Linked DNA regions of Homo sapiens: all the other regions are linked to region 3. Evidence: promoter capture Hi-C in 16 types of primary human blood cells and fetal thymus (Javierre and others, 2016). All regions are on one chromosome and are shown on one strand. The core of a region is centred on a gene start or on the middle of the fragment in contact, and the rest is flanking DNA. Distances in the headings are between cores, read along the strand shown. Region 1 holds the start of PRXL2B (peroxiredoxin like 2B). Region 2 holds the start of MORN1 (MORN repeat containing 1). Region 3 holds the start of NPHP4 (nephrocystin 4).

The links. Contacts are between HindIII fragments. The CHiCAGO score rates a contact against its expected background, and 5 or more counts as called.
Region 1: a contact is called between the fragment with the promoter of PRXL2B here and the fragment with the promoter of NPHP4 in region 3, in 2 of 17 cell types (fetal thymus and monocytes). The highest score is 11.0, in fetal thymus.
Region 2: a contact is called between the fragment with the promoter of MORN1 here and the fragment with the promoter of NPHP4 in region 3, in 1 of 17 cell types (fetal thymus). The highest score is 8.2, in fetal thymus.

The regions. Positions count from the first base shown.
Region 1 is chr1:2,584,557-2,588,784 of GRCh38, reverse strand. PRXL2B (peroxiredoxin like 2B) reads right to left here and starts at 2,008. Exons shown (of 7, transcript NM_152371.5): 1 at 1,837-2,008; 2 at 1,490-1,694; 3 at 993-1,044; 4 at 332-395; 5 at 160-235. The coding sequence starts at 1,899. RefSeq lists an enhancer at 568-1,200. The HindIII fragment of the contact is 11,388 bases long and covers 1-4,228 here.
Region 2 is chr1:2,388,400-2,392,991 of GRCh38, reverse strand. It overlaps MORN1 (MORN repeat containing 1), which reads left to right and starts at 1,438. Exons shown (of 14, transcript NM_024848.3): 1 at 1,438-1,534; 2 at 2,996-3,067. The coding sequence starts at 1,459. It overlaps RER1 (retention in endoplasmic reticulum sorting receptor 1), which reads right to left and starts at 1,151. Exons shown (of 7, transcript NM_007033.5): 1 at 1,034-1,151. RefSeq lists silencers at 866-1,165, 1,266-1,375, 1,506-1,575, 1,736-1,865, 4,192-4,361 and enhancers at 407-1,279, 1,148-1,442, 4,422-4,541. The HindIII fragment of the contact is 4,806 bases long and covers 54-4,592 here.
Region 3 is chr1:5,990,457-5,995,061 of GRCh38, reverse strand. NPHP4 (nephrocystin 4) reads left to right here and starts at 2,637. Exons shown (of 30, transcript NM_015102.5): 1 at 2,637-2,818. It also overlaps a transcript of KCNAB2 not described here. RefSeq lists enhancers at 1,288-1,337, 3,214-4,068 and silencers at 2,088-2,337, 2,418-2,597, 2,638-2,807, 2,958-3,137. The HindIII fragment of the contact is 3,854 bases long and covers 1,599-4,605 here.

The DNA of each region.
Region 1 (4,228 bases), core at 759-3,258, 3.4 Mb after region 3:
CCACAGCCCCACTCAGCCCAGCAGACACGCAGAACCAGGCCACATTGCGGCGGAGGGGCTGTGATGAGACTGACAAGCCAGAGAGAGGGCCTGGGCTGGGCCACCAAGTTCAGCAAGGCCCTCCTTGAGGCAGTGGCCGAGGCCCCTCCCTCGACCCACCTTTGCTGACCACCAGCAGCCCTCCGCTCTGCAGCAGGTCCCCAGACAAGTTCCCCTGGATGCCAACAGCCTTGGCCTGTCAGGAGTGGGTACAGCCTGAGTCAATCCTAGAAGAAAGGCTCCTGGGAGCTCCCACCACCCCCCGGCCTGTACACCCTTGACCCGCACACACCTTGGCAGCCACATCACGCACGGGCTTCCCCAGAGCTGCTGGGAGGATGCTCAGGCTGTTGTACCTGCGAAGACACCAGGTCGCTTGGCCAAACTCCGGAGAAGCCTGGGTCCAGAGCCTGCTCCAGTGTCCATGAGACCAGTTCCTAGGTCAGGCCCCACCCCACCCACCCGCCTCACCAGGGCTCAGAGATGGCACAGGCGACCAGATCAGTAGCCAGCCCAGCCCACCGGCAGGTTGGACACCGAGCCCAGTGGCTGCTAGCCGAGGGTCCACAGAGGGTGCAGGGAGCATGGATGGGGCCCCAGGCTGGGTGTGCCCAGGGATCTGGCTCAGCTGGCAACTGCCAAGCAAAGGAAGCAGCCTGTGGCACAGACACCAGAAAGCTAGGATGGCCCCTGATGGGCCACGAGGCTCCACCCCACGAGGTGGTCTGGACACCGAGAGTAAGCCCCGGACGAGGTGGCTCATTACAGTCACCCAGCACCCAAGAGAAGGCCTGGCAGAAGGGCTGGTCAACAGTGCCACCAGAGCCGCCTTGCCCAGGAAGGCCCGAGTGGACAGCACCACAGAGGGCAGCAGGGAGAGGAGGTGGCAGGGAGCGGTGGGAACCCCTGGGCCCCCCACCCCACGCTACCCAAGGGTTCCCGCCCCCACTCACCGCTTGAAGCCTAGCTCCTTGTAAAGCTGCTTGCTCTCATCCAGGTAGAGCTCTGGAAAGCGGAAGCCACATGTGTGTGCCCCAGGCGCAGAACCAGCCCCCAACCCACTCACCACAAAGAATCGCCCTCCTCCTTCCGACCCTCTGTTCCTCTGCCCACCCTCCGTGCTCAGCCCACCCCCGCAGGGCAGGGAGGGGTAAAACGGGGCTGAGTGTCCCCCCTCCCCTCAGAAGAGGGGCTGAGTCCCAGAGGCAACAGGTGGAGCCGGCGGGGCAGAGCTCGTCCAGACTCTGCTGCTGGGCCCAGGTCTGTGCAGGGCACCACCCAGCCACCAGCTGCGGGGCGGGGAGGCAGGGAGAGATGAGGGACGCTGACCCGTGGGCATATCAAGGCCGCTCCAGCAGACAGAAGGGCCGGGGTTGGGCAGGAAAGGGCCCCGAACGCCCTGAGCTTAGGGAAGGGTATGTGCGCCGCCGCGGCGGGGAACAGGACGCACCTCCCGCGAAGTAGTCGCCGTCCAGGAACTCCTGCAGACCCAGGGCCTCGGGCCCTACGCCCACCAGGCGCACGCCGTGTTGGTCCAGGAGCCCAGCAAGGCTGCTGAGGTCCTGGGCGATCCAGCGGCACACCACGCACCCGAAGCGCCGCAGCCCGGCCACCACGCACGCGTGCTCCCGCCACAGGCTCCGCAGCTCCACGGCCTGCCGGGCGGCTGGGTCATGGGCGCGCCCCGTTGCCCCCAGCCCCGCCCAGGCCCCGCGGCCCCCACCACCCCATCGCTGCCAGGACGCCCGGGCAAGGAGCCAGGGACGCGCCCACCGCCCTGCGTCCACCCGGCCTCACCTCCCCGGTCACCGCATGCTTCAGGATGCACGCGCCCACGCGAGCAAGGTCCACCGTGCTCATGGCGGCCGCTGCCAGCCCTGGTTCCCGGCTCCCCGACTCCCTGTTCCCCGCTCCCGGCTCCTCGCTCCTGGATCCCCGCTCCCGGCTCATAGATCCAGCCCCAAGCCCCGCCCCGAGATGCCCCGGTCCCGCCTTTCTTGCTGCCGCCGAGGCCCCGCCCCTTCGGGCTCGTCTCCGCCCCGGGCCCGCCCCCAAGATGGCCGCAGCGCGCCCCGGCCACGCCCCCGACCGCACCCCGAGCCCTGCTCCGCCCCCTCGGATTCGCCCCTAGTCCCGCCTTGTTTCCCCTCCTACTCCAGGCCAAGCCTCGAGATCGCGGCGCCAAATCCTGGGTCCGCCTGCTTCGGTCCCTCCCGCCTCCTCAATCCGGGCCTTGCGGGACAGTTGCTGTCCCGCGTCCTGGTCCCGCCCCTAGCCCCGCCTCTCCGTTGGGCCGCCGACTTGGACCCCGTCGGCCATTGGCGCAGCAGGCGGAGCTGGGCGGTGCGGCCCTCGGTGCGCGGTGCGCCTGTGCGGAATGCGGCGGGAGGCGGGCAGCCGGCTCGGGGTCGTCCCGGGGGGCGCCGGGGAGCGGCTGGGTACGGTGGGCCCAGGGGTGGTCCAGGGAGCGGCGGGGGTCTCCCTGCGGCCTCGCGCGAGACTGGGCTGGACTCAGGGTTGAGGGGAGAGGGTGAGCGCAGGGGTCGCGGGCATAGGGGACCGCGGGCCGGGGTCTCCCGCGGGGCGGGGGTCCCAGCAGTGGGGGGCGGGGGGGTGCGAGGGCTTAGCCTTTCCACGTGGCCTGGTTTTCGCTTGAAAATCCCCGCAAATGCGGCAGCATCTCAATTATACATGGACGCGATGTCTTTAATCATGAAATACTGTTCATGTCGTGCCGGTTGCATATCAGCTTTTAACCCGCCAAACCTTGGGGCGAAATAGACCCCGGGGAGATAAGCACAGCTCCCAGAAGTGCACTGCGGGTCAGGTGCCTGGCAGATGCGTCCTGTTCCTCCCCCACTGCAGCCCTGTGATAGCTTTTGTCACCGAGTTGGGGTGAGGGCCGGGTCACAGCTTCACCCGGCCTGGGCTCCCACCTGAGCGGGCCCGGCCTGGCAGAGTCTGTGCTGCTGGCACGGGTCCTCACTCCCCAGGCCCCAGGACAGCTCCAGGGGCCTGGGCGGGCTGGAGAAGGAAGGGGGAGCCCCCACACTGTATTCCAAATAAAGAGAGGCCCCGGGGGGGTGCTGCTGCTTCGCCTGTGCCCTCGCCCTGGGGTGGTGAAGGTCCAGACTGCGAAACGGAAGTCGTCACTATGTCAGAAAGGGCAAAAAGCAAAACAAGGAAGGGGAAGCACTAGGAGGGAGGAGCTGTGGCAGCTCCAGAGCCCAGGAGTGCAGCCCCCAGAGACCAGGGCTACCCCTCTACCGTCTCGGGCTGTGCAGGAGGGGCCCTCTACCCTCTGGAGTTGTGCAGGAGGGGGCCCCTCTACCATCTGGGGCTGGGCAGGAAGGGCCCCCCCCCACCGTCTCAGGCTGTGCAGGAGGGGGCCCCTCTACTGTCTCGGGCTGTGCAGGAGGGGGCCCCTCTATCTTCTGGGGCTGTGCAGGAGGGGGCCCCTCCACTGTCTCAGGCTGTGCAGGAGAGGGCCCCTCTGCCGTCTGGGGCTGTGCAAGCAGTGAGCAAGCTGCCGCCTCCTTGGGAGCTGGGATCCCAGACGGGATTCAGCCATTTTCAGAGACGTTCCCAGAAACGAGAATGCGAGATCAATTCCTCGCCTGGCATCTCCCACCAACGCCATCGCTGCAGGAGCCTCACTGGAAGCCAACGGGCAGAGGAGAGTGGGAAAGGAGCTTGCAGCCTCCCAGCTCCAGTGATGCAGAGCAGAAGGTGGCTGGGAGGCTGAGAAGCCATAAGAAAATAGCAGGGCCAGCCCATGTGGCCGCTCAGATACATGCTATGTGTGTGTTTGCATATGTAGGGGCTGAAAAACTCCACCTCCATCCTTTTGAGGTCCTGGCTGGGCCCAAGAGTTAAATCAAGATAAGACAGATCATCATGCCAGTGTATTTGATTAAAGTTGGATGTGGCTCAGGAGCCCTCCTAAGGAAGTGAAGACCCAGTGAAGCAGACTCAGTCGTGTGCTGAGTTGGACAGAGAACAGTGAGGTTTGAGGAAGCAGCTAGATGATGTGGGGGGCTGAAAAGGTGAGAGGCATTTTATCAGGGACTGTACAGCATTTGCTGGGTCTCAGCTTCTCATCCTTGAGGATCAGAGCTTTCTAGTGTAGGGAGAGCATCTTTCACCTGGGAATTTCATCTTCTGCTTTTAAGAAACACAAGAGAGATCA
Region 2 (4,592 bases), core at 189-2,688, 3.6 Mb after region 3:
CATCCCCAATTCCTCCGGGACTAAGAAAGCCCCCGGCTGCCGTGCACCAAGCTTCACGCCTCTGGTGTTGTTCAGTCCTCTGAAATGCCCTCCCAGACCCCGTCTCTTCCTCCTTCCCAAGGCCACATTCCAGCCTGGGCTCCCCGCTCCTCTGGGCCTGACCATCTTATATCTCCACCTGGCTCTGACACACTGTTACCGCCGTCGCCGTCACCTCAGGCATACGGCAGAAGCCATGTGAGAGTCTGAATTACTGAGAACCCTTTATCCACTTACGGGGATAACTGCATCTTCCTGGGAAATGTCAACTCAACTAAAAATAAAGTGCTTCCAGGACTAGCGGCCAGTCTCTACTCTTCATAAAGGGAAAAGGGCAAAAGCCCACTGAAGGTACTTAGGCTGAAAGCAGCCCTCTGTGCTGTGAGACACCTGGCAGAGAAACGAACGATACCTTTATCAGTGGGGCCACAGACCAGTACTAAGTCAGCCTGGAGAATTTATGATTTTATTGCCTATTTAGAATACGATCAAAACCGATGTAACTAGTTTCCCTTCAGCCCGTCAGTAACGCCTTCACCCCAGAGCTTAACACTAAATCCTACAGATAAGCGCTGACCTGGACGCAGGATGGGGACAGGGCACATTACTCTGGAATACAGCCCAACTCGCAGCGCTGTGGGGGCCGCGACTGCCCGCTTCCCCCAGATGCCAAGCAGGGGATGCGGACGAGATGCGGCCCGGGTGGCTCGAGGGCTGCAGCCCCCGCCCGGCCCCTCTCCCGCTCCCCCGACCCTCGCAGGCCCCAGGGCTCCGCCGCACCCCCCAGCACCCCGTCCCGGGCCCGACCCCGAGGCGCGACCCGTACCCCTCAGGGCCGCGGGTCGGGAACACGGTCCCCGCGGCCACCCGGGCCCCGACGGCCCTCCCCGCCCGGCCCTCAGCGCGGCCCCGCCCGCCCGCGGCCTTGACAGCCCGGAAGAAGCGGAGGCGGCGCTGCCCGGCCGTTCCCGCGCCACGCAGCCCTTCCTGGCACCTCGCAGCTCCGCTACGGCCGAGCCGCGGTCTCCCTCACGGCCGCGGGAAGGAGGACGGCGGGGCACGGGCGGCCGCAGGCGCTGCGCTCCGGCTCCGGGAAGCTGCAGCGAGCACTTCCGCTCCGTCCTCCGCGGCGCCGCCTCCAGGGCCCCCAAGATGGCGCGAGGGCGGGGCCAAGGGCTCCAACCATTTCCGCTTCCGGCGCAGACGCGCAGGCCGTTGGCGGGCGGGCCTCCCGGCGGAAGAGACGACAGCGGCGGAAACGCGCACAGGCGCAGCTGCGTCCTCTGGCTCCGGGCCCGGCTAGCTTCGCTCCAGAGATTGCGCGGGCTCAGGGACTAGGCCCGTGGCCACACCCCCCCTTGCGACAAAGACCAATGGAAGCGGGCGTTGCTGGTCGCTAAGAGAACCCTCGGCGGCAAGATGGCAGCGGCGGGCGAGGGCACCCCGAGCTCCCGCGGGCCGCGTCGGGACCCGCCTAGGCGGCCGCCCCGGAACGGTAACGACTGCGGGCCACGGGACAGGTCGCTGGCTGCCCTGGGCTCCATTCAGGGTGCGATCGCTCTACGCCCTCGACCCCCAAATGCTCACCTCGGAAAGTAGAGGTCCAGGTGCCGCGGCGGAGCCAGGGCCGCCCCCGCGTCCCCCACTCCCACAGGACTCGCCGTGCGCCTCGGGCTCGGCTCGCACCCTTCCCCGAGCCCTCCTCCCGCAGCAGGCCAAGCCCTGCAGGGGGTCGCCCCCCGCGGGCTCCTAGCCGGGAAGACCGGGTTCCGGCCGCAGCCTCACAGCCAGCGGGACCTGGGGTTGCCATGGGGATCCCGAAGCCCAGGACTTGGGGCGAGGGCAGGCGCAGGAGCAGCACCAAGCCTCCTGACTTCCTGGCCGGTGCTGTCCAGAAACGCTAGGACGCGTTTCAAAAGCAGTTTTTGCCTGTACTTCCAGCACTTTGGGAGGCCGAGGCGGGTGGATCACCTGAGGTCAGGAGTTCGAGACCAGTGTGGCCAACATGGCGAAACCCGGTCTCTACTAAAAAATACAAAAATTGGCCCGGGGTGGTGCCTCCTGTAGTTCCAGCTACTCGGGAGGCTGAGGCAGGAGAATCGCTTGAACCCAGGAAGCGGAGGTTGCAGAGAGCCGAGATCGCGCCGCTGCACCCCAGCCTGGGCGACAGAGCAAGACTCAGTCTCAAAAAAAAAAAAAAGAGCAGGTTTTGATAGGAACTGTTTCTAGAATCAAATAAACGGGTCTGGAATGAACTCAGAGCTAACACTACTATCTTCAGGTAGAACCTGACCCTGATTTGGGACAGATACAGTAGCCTGTAGTAACCCCCTGCCCTCCTCCCCGACATTTTCCCATAAACCCTGCCCACAAAATGTGCCTGAGGAGCTGGTAGGGAGGGAGCCCTGCCCATTCCTGGAACTGCAGGAGTTGGCGGGTGGCACACCCAGCAACTAGGAGGAGATGAAGCCGGCCAGGCCATCCTTGGGTATGAGTGTGGATTTTCTCCCCAGCGATAGGAGGCCACTGAAGGGCCACGGCAGGGGATGGGAGAGTCTGCTCCTCCCCTGTGTGCCTCACTGACACTGCCGCTCTGCCTTCCCCTGGCTCACTCATCTCCTGCAACAAGGCTCCCAACCTGCTCCTCACCACCTCCCGAGCACCTCTGGTCTCTCAAGGACCTGCAGTTGTTTCAAGCCAGCCCTCCTCTTACTGGGCCTGTCTTCTCTGCACCAAGTAGGTCCTCATCCTTGTCACATAAACAAATGAGCAAATGAATGGCCCAACAGTCGACAGGAGAGCTCATGAGCCCCACAGGTCGCCTCTGGTCTGCTGAAGGTGACGTGTACCAACCCCTTGAAGGCCCTCAAGGGAGCTGCACTCCCTCCTTCAGCACTGGAGAGCATCCCTCATCTCTGTGTCTGTGCTTACCTGTGTGTGTCTTCTCAATACTCAGGTTATGGTGTCTACGTATACCCAAATTCCTTCTTTCGATATGAAGGAGAATGGAAAGCAGGGAGGAAGCACGGTGAGAAGCATCTGTGGTCTCTTCTTGCAGCTGCTGCCCCACAGCTGACGAAACCAGTTTCTCCCCGGGAGGTTGGGTGGGCAAGTGGCATTTCCTGTAGCTTTCGAGCCCATTGTACCCTGGTGCTTCCCTGGCTGCTCAGGGTAAGGCTGGATGGGCAGGGGAAACAGAGGCCTGGGAGACCCCCCTGGAGGGCCACCTTTAGCAAAGGAAGCTGCGACTTTGAAATTCTCCCTAGAGGTTGAGTTCATTTGTCTTTTCCAGACTGAAAACTGGCTTTATGGTTTATTTCCTATTATAAAGAGAACCTACTCTTGTAGTAAATCCAAGTAATAGAAGAAAGAAAGTGTAAAGTCAAGCCAAGCGCAGTGGCTCACGCCTGTAATCCCAGTACTTTGGGAGGCCAAGGTGGGCGGATCACTTGAGGTCAGGAGTTCCAGAACAGCCTGACCAGCATGCTGAAACCCTGACCCTACTAAAAAGACAATAATAGCTGGTTGTGGTAAGGCACACCTGTAATCCTAGCTACTTGGCAGGCTGAGCCAGGAGAATCCCTTGAACACAGGAGGCAGAGGTTGCAGTCAGCTGAGATTGTGCCACTGCACTCCAGCCTGGGTGACAGACTGAGACTCCGTCTCAAAACAGAACAAAAAAAGCAAGTATAAAGTCGATAACACCTGTACCCCCACCAACCCCAGGCAAGTGCCGTGAACCTTTGGTGGTGTGGACGTTCCCGCCACTGTACTCCTCTCACGCAGTTTTGTATCTGCTCTCTGCCAGTTTTGTTTCTTTTTTCTTTTTTTTTTTTTTTGGAGACAGAGTTTTGCTCTTGTTGCCCAGGCTGGAGTGCAATGCTGCCATCTCGGCTCACTGCAACCTCCGGCTCCCAGGTTCAAGTGATTCTCCTGCCTCAGCCTCATGAGTAGCTGGGATTACAGGCACCTGCCACCACGCCCAGCTAATTTTTGTATTTTTAGTAGAGATGCAGTTTTGCCATGTTGGCCTGGCTGGTCTCGAACTCCTGACCTCAGGTGATCTGCCCACCTCAACCTCCCAAAGTGCTGAGATTACAGGCATGAGCCACTGCGCCCAGCCACTCTGCCTAGTTTTCTTCTCTCTCTCTCTTTTTTTTTTTTTTTTTTTTTTTTTGAGACAGTCTTGCTCTGTCGCCCAGGCTGGAGTGCAGTGATGCAATCATGGCTCTCTGCAGCCTCAACCTCCTGACTCAAGGGATCCTCCCACCTCAGCCTCCTGAGCAGCTGGACCCACAAACACGTACCACCACACCTGGCTAATTTTTAAAATTTTGTGTAGAGACGGGGTCTCTCCGTGTTGCTCAGGCTGGCTGCCTGCACTTCGATTCCTGTGCTTGTTCTGGCTGAAGGCGCCGGCCGCTCAAGCGTGTTTCGGCAGATATTTTTGAGAACATTTTTTTATTTTTAAATACATGTATAGCATGAGTGATGGAGCCAAACACAAGTTTTGAAGCCAAGCTCTTGGTTCTGAGAAACAGGCCCAACACTGC
Region 3 (4,605 bases), core at 1,388-3,887:
GACCAGACACATACCGCACCTGGCCAGAGTCCCTGGAAACAGAAGCACGGTCCCCTGGTTCTCGCGAGGGAGCAGGCTCTCCTTCCACACAGATGATGTGTTCCCAGTTACCACGGCAGAGCACCAACACACAGGAAGGTCTAGGGGAGGCCCCTCCCTCCAAGCCCAGGCCGGAAACTGCCAAATCAAAACTGTGTGGCACTCGCTTCCTCCTGAACCATTTGGGTCTTAGAAGATGACTGAAAAATGAAAGCGAGGAAGCCTTCTCTAGCTGGCCAGCCCATGGCACCCTCGGCCTTTCCAGCTCTCTAGCGCCATGGCCCACGTCCCACCTCCCGGGTGCAATGGCTTCTGTGCACACTGCTTCCCATCCAGGCTCCAAATCCAGACCCAAGACGGTTCTCAACCAAGAAACACACGAAAAGGGTTTCACACTTTTTCACGACACCCCCCAACTCCAGTGCCTGGCTCAGCCCCCAGGTGTTGACTAGCACCTACAAAGCATTTGCTGACTGGCGCAGGGAAAAAAAAAATGGCCCTGGGTGTCAACAGGGAAGCCCCTACCATGCTGCTCTCGAGGGATGTGCTGCGGCCCGAACACTGTCAGTGCCACTGAGGCCGAGTGTGGCCGTGGAGACAATGACAGGACCTGGAGGACCAAGTGCACTCTTAGGGCCCCACACTGCGAGAGCACAGGGCCAGGAGCTGCACAGGGCTCTGCAGCAGACACGGCCGCCAGGCGAGAATCAGGTGGGCAGATGTGACTCTCCACACGTAGGTCCCCAAACCCTGCAACCTGCAACGCGGGGCCTGAATGCGGCTTCCTTAGCAGAGCAGGAGCTTACTCTTGGCACTGGGGGAAAGGGGAGGGGTGAGGCTGGGGTTTTTGTCGGGGAGGAGAAGTTGCAGAGAAAGAAAAAATCCTGAAACGACAGACAGTGGGACAGCTGTGGCCTGAACTTGGTGTTCTTGCTCCTCGGATGTGGATGTATTAATTTCCATAAATGCTAATAGCCCACTTCCCCAAGAGCTATTACTTATGTCATCTCCCCTTGGACACAGTTCAACACAGGGCAGACAAATGAAAGGGAGGAAAAGACAACCCCCAGTGGCGGTCCCCAGCTCCTCAGCCCCCTCCCAACCAGGCAGCTCAGGTCTGGTTCCTAAGGTGGCCCTGCTAACCGCAGGGTCAAGACCCCTGCCTTCAGCTCCGTAGCCAGGTCCCTATCACGACAGGAAGCAAGAAAGTTACCAACCCCAAAAATGCTGAATCACAAAGTGAGGCTGAGCAGGAAAGTGGGGGTGGGGAGGGAAGGAGACGGTGGCCAGGGAGGAAAGGTGCTAAGGGGCTTTCCACCTGGAGCACCCCGGGATGCTGCGGGCAAAGCACAGTCCCTGTAAGAGCCCCCAGGACAAATGCCAGGAGGAGGGACACCAGGATGCGGCTGGTTGGCGGGGTGGGAAGGTGGGCAGGTACCCCGGCTGCTGCTAATGCCGCAGGACGCGGTGCAGCAGTGGGGTCTTTGCATCCTGGGAGCAGCAGCAGGTAGGGAGGTGCGGAAGTGCTTTGTGCCAAGGCCTGGCAGGAGGGAGAAGCTTAAGATAGGAGTAGGGGCTCAGGGTCAGAAGTGGCGGTGTGTGTGCTGTAAACAGCCCGAGGAACTGGTGCAGGAAGCAGGGTCACAGTCTTGGGGAGCAGGGTAAGGTGGTGAGAGCGTGCCCGCGGGGAGAGGTCGGAGGGGCTGGGGGCAGAATGGGAGGGTGGGGAAAGGGACCGGAGCGACACAGGGACAGGCAGCGAGAACGACGGATGAGCCTTGAGAAGCGATCAGGAGGAGAGATGGGGAGGACCGGGAACAGCAGCGCCCCGGTGGGGCTGCGCAGAGGCCGGGAGAGGGGATGAGAGGAGGATGGAGGAAAGGGGAGGGCGAGGCTGCTAGGACCGGAGCGGGCAGAGATGGGGAAGAGGTGCACCGGGAAGAGGGACGGCGGCAGGGGCAGGGGTCAGGGATGCGAGCTGAAGGGTCGGGCGGGCGGGAGGACAGGGAAGGAAAGACAGAAAGGGATGGGGGAAGGGAGACGATGGAGAAGGAGGTGAGGAGGCTGGAGAGGAGGTGAGACAGCGGCGGAGGCAGGGACGCAGGGCCGGGGAAGAAGAGATGGAGACGGGACCGCGGCGCCTGCCGCAGCGCGGGCCTCGCGGATACCCGCCGCCGCCGTCCCGGAGCAGCTTGGTGGAAAGCGCGCCCCGCCGGGGTCTCCCCGGTACTCACCTGGGGGCTCCAGCTCCGGATCCTGTGCCCCGCGCCGGATCTTCCTTCCCGCCCTGCCCCTGCGACTTTAGCGCCCCCGAATCCCGCTAGCTCCTGCAGGTTCCGCCAGCAGCATCTTCACCTCGTGGGACGCCCGGGGCCACGCCTCTTCCAGCTTCTGATTGGCTATTGTTCACGCCAGTCACATTACCATTGGTTGAGGGGTCGTCGGACATGCAAATCAGGATGGGCCCGCCGCCGCACCGATTGGCTGGCGCTCGCAAAGCGCAGCCCTCGACTTGGGCTCTGATTGGCTCCGCGGCCCTGACGGCGACAGTGACGCGAGGCGGGTTCTTGGACTGAGTGTGCGGCGCGGTGCGCCGCCTTCCGAGGCTCCTCCCGCGGGTGGCAGCGGACGGGGCGCGCCCCTCGGCCAGTCCTCGGTCCTCAGGCTTGTGGCTCCGTTGAGCACCGGCCGCCGGGCCTCTGGGTCCGTCGAGTGGAGACTCTCTGAAAAGCGTGGGCTCCGTGGCCTCCGGCGCGGCCGCGGCGGGTCGGTCTCCTAGGTAACGCGGCCCGCGGCGGGCGGAACCATGTGGGCCGGCGCCGCGGGGGAGGTTGGACGCGGCCTCGAGGCACAGGGGGCCTCAGTGTTGGCCAGAGCCTCGGGGTTCGGGGGTAGGGTGGTCCACGCCGTCCCTGCGTGGGGGCCCGGTGCCTGGGGTGCGGCGGTGGCGCGCGGCGGGGGCTGTCCCCGCGTTAGTCGCAGGCGTCCCCCCTCGTCGGGACACTTGGGGTCGGGGCCGCTGGGTGCCGTTTGGCTACGTGGGTTCCTTTCTGCCCTTGCCCTTTGCCCCCTGCCCCCTGCCCCCTGCCCCCTGCCCCCTGGCCTCTCTGCAGCCCCTCGGCTGAAGGGAGCGCGGTACCGATGTTCTGGGCCTTGGCTCCCCGCGCCCTAGTCCGCGCGCATCCTTCCCAGGCCGGAGTCCGCGGACCCCGCCTGGCCGCGCCCCTCCGCCCCTCCTCCCCGCCCCCCGGCTCCAGCTCCGGCTCCGGCTGTCAGTTCCCCGCGGTGGCTCTGCGGCCTTCGGGCGTCCCTGCGAGGCTTTGTACCCGGCGCCGTCCCGGCCTTCTGCGCCCCTTTCCTGCCTTGGAACCTCCCGGCCGACCCGGCCCGGAAGGCGCCACCCGCTCCCGCGTGCCCTTCCCCACGCGTGCAGGCTGCTCCCGCCCGCCCCCGGGCTTGCAGGCACCTCGCTGCCCGAGATTCCTCGTGTCTAACTTCTTAGGAGACCGCTGCTTTCTGCCTCCGTGTGTCGCGATGTGTGGCTTTGGTGGACGTCTGTGAAGGAAATCCAGCCTCTCGCGTGTGTAGTTGGCAAAAGGAGGAGTATTTCTGTTGATGGTGGGCAGCGCCTCCCGGTCCTAACCCAGGGCTCCGTTCGTTGCACCTCCTCTGTGCAGTTTCCGTAGGTCACACTTGTGTCTTTTTGTATGCTAATTTGTGCCCCGTTTCTTTACATTCTATGGGGGTAGCGAGCTTGTCTGCTGTGTTCAAGACCGTTTCTCCCGGGCGCAGGGTAGGTGCTGAAAGAATGCTCATGAATGAGGGAATTCCAGGCAGTGCTTAATCAGACCTCTGCTTCCCCAAAAGCTCCCCAAGGCATCTGGGTCTCAGGCATTACACATTTTCCATTCCGGGAAGGAGGCTTCCCGGACCCTGACAGCGCCTCCCACCCCCTGCATCTTCCTTCAGCCCTGCTCACCTCTGCACCCTCCCGGGGGCCTGTTGCTGCTCACAGTCACTTTCTTGTCTTTCTCCCCCACTGGCTTTCTAGATGCTTGAAGACAGCACATTTGACAGCCTTCTTATGCACTGGAACACAAGTGCTCGGGAAATAGTTGCTGAATAGATCAGCAGAAGCAGAGATCTCAAGGAGATTTCACAGCTCTCATTTTGGAGGTTGGAAACAGGTGGGGAGGCTGCGAATCTGTCCTGAAGTTAAAGAGGAGACAGCATTAGCCCTGGGTTCCTTTGGTGCTCTTACTTTTTCCCTCTGGGCCTCTCTTCTCCCTTGGCCTCTCCTGGCCTCCTTGATTGAGGTAGTGGGAGGTAGTTATAATAGCTTACAGTATTATATCTATAATACTATTATAATAGCTAGTTATAATAGCTAGCTGTGTGACCTTGGATTGGCTGTTTATCCTTTCTGAGTCTCAGTGTTCTCATCTGTAAGATGGCGATAATGATGATTCTCATTTGGCAGAGTTGTTGGAATAGTAACCATAGAATGTGAGTTCCTGTCTTGCATCAGGGGCTCATTAAAAGTGGGTGTATTTTCTTCTTCTTCTT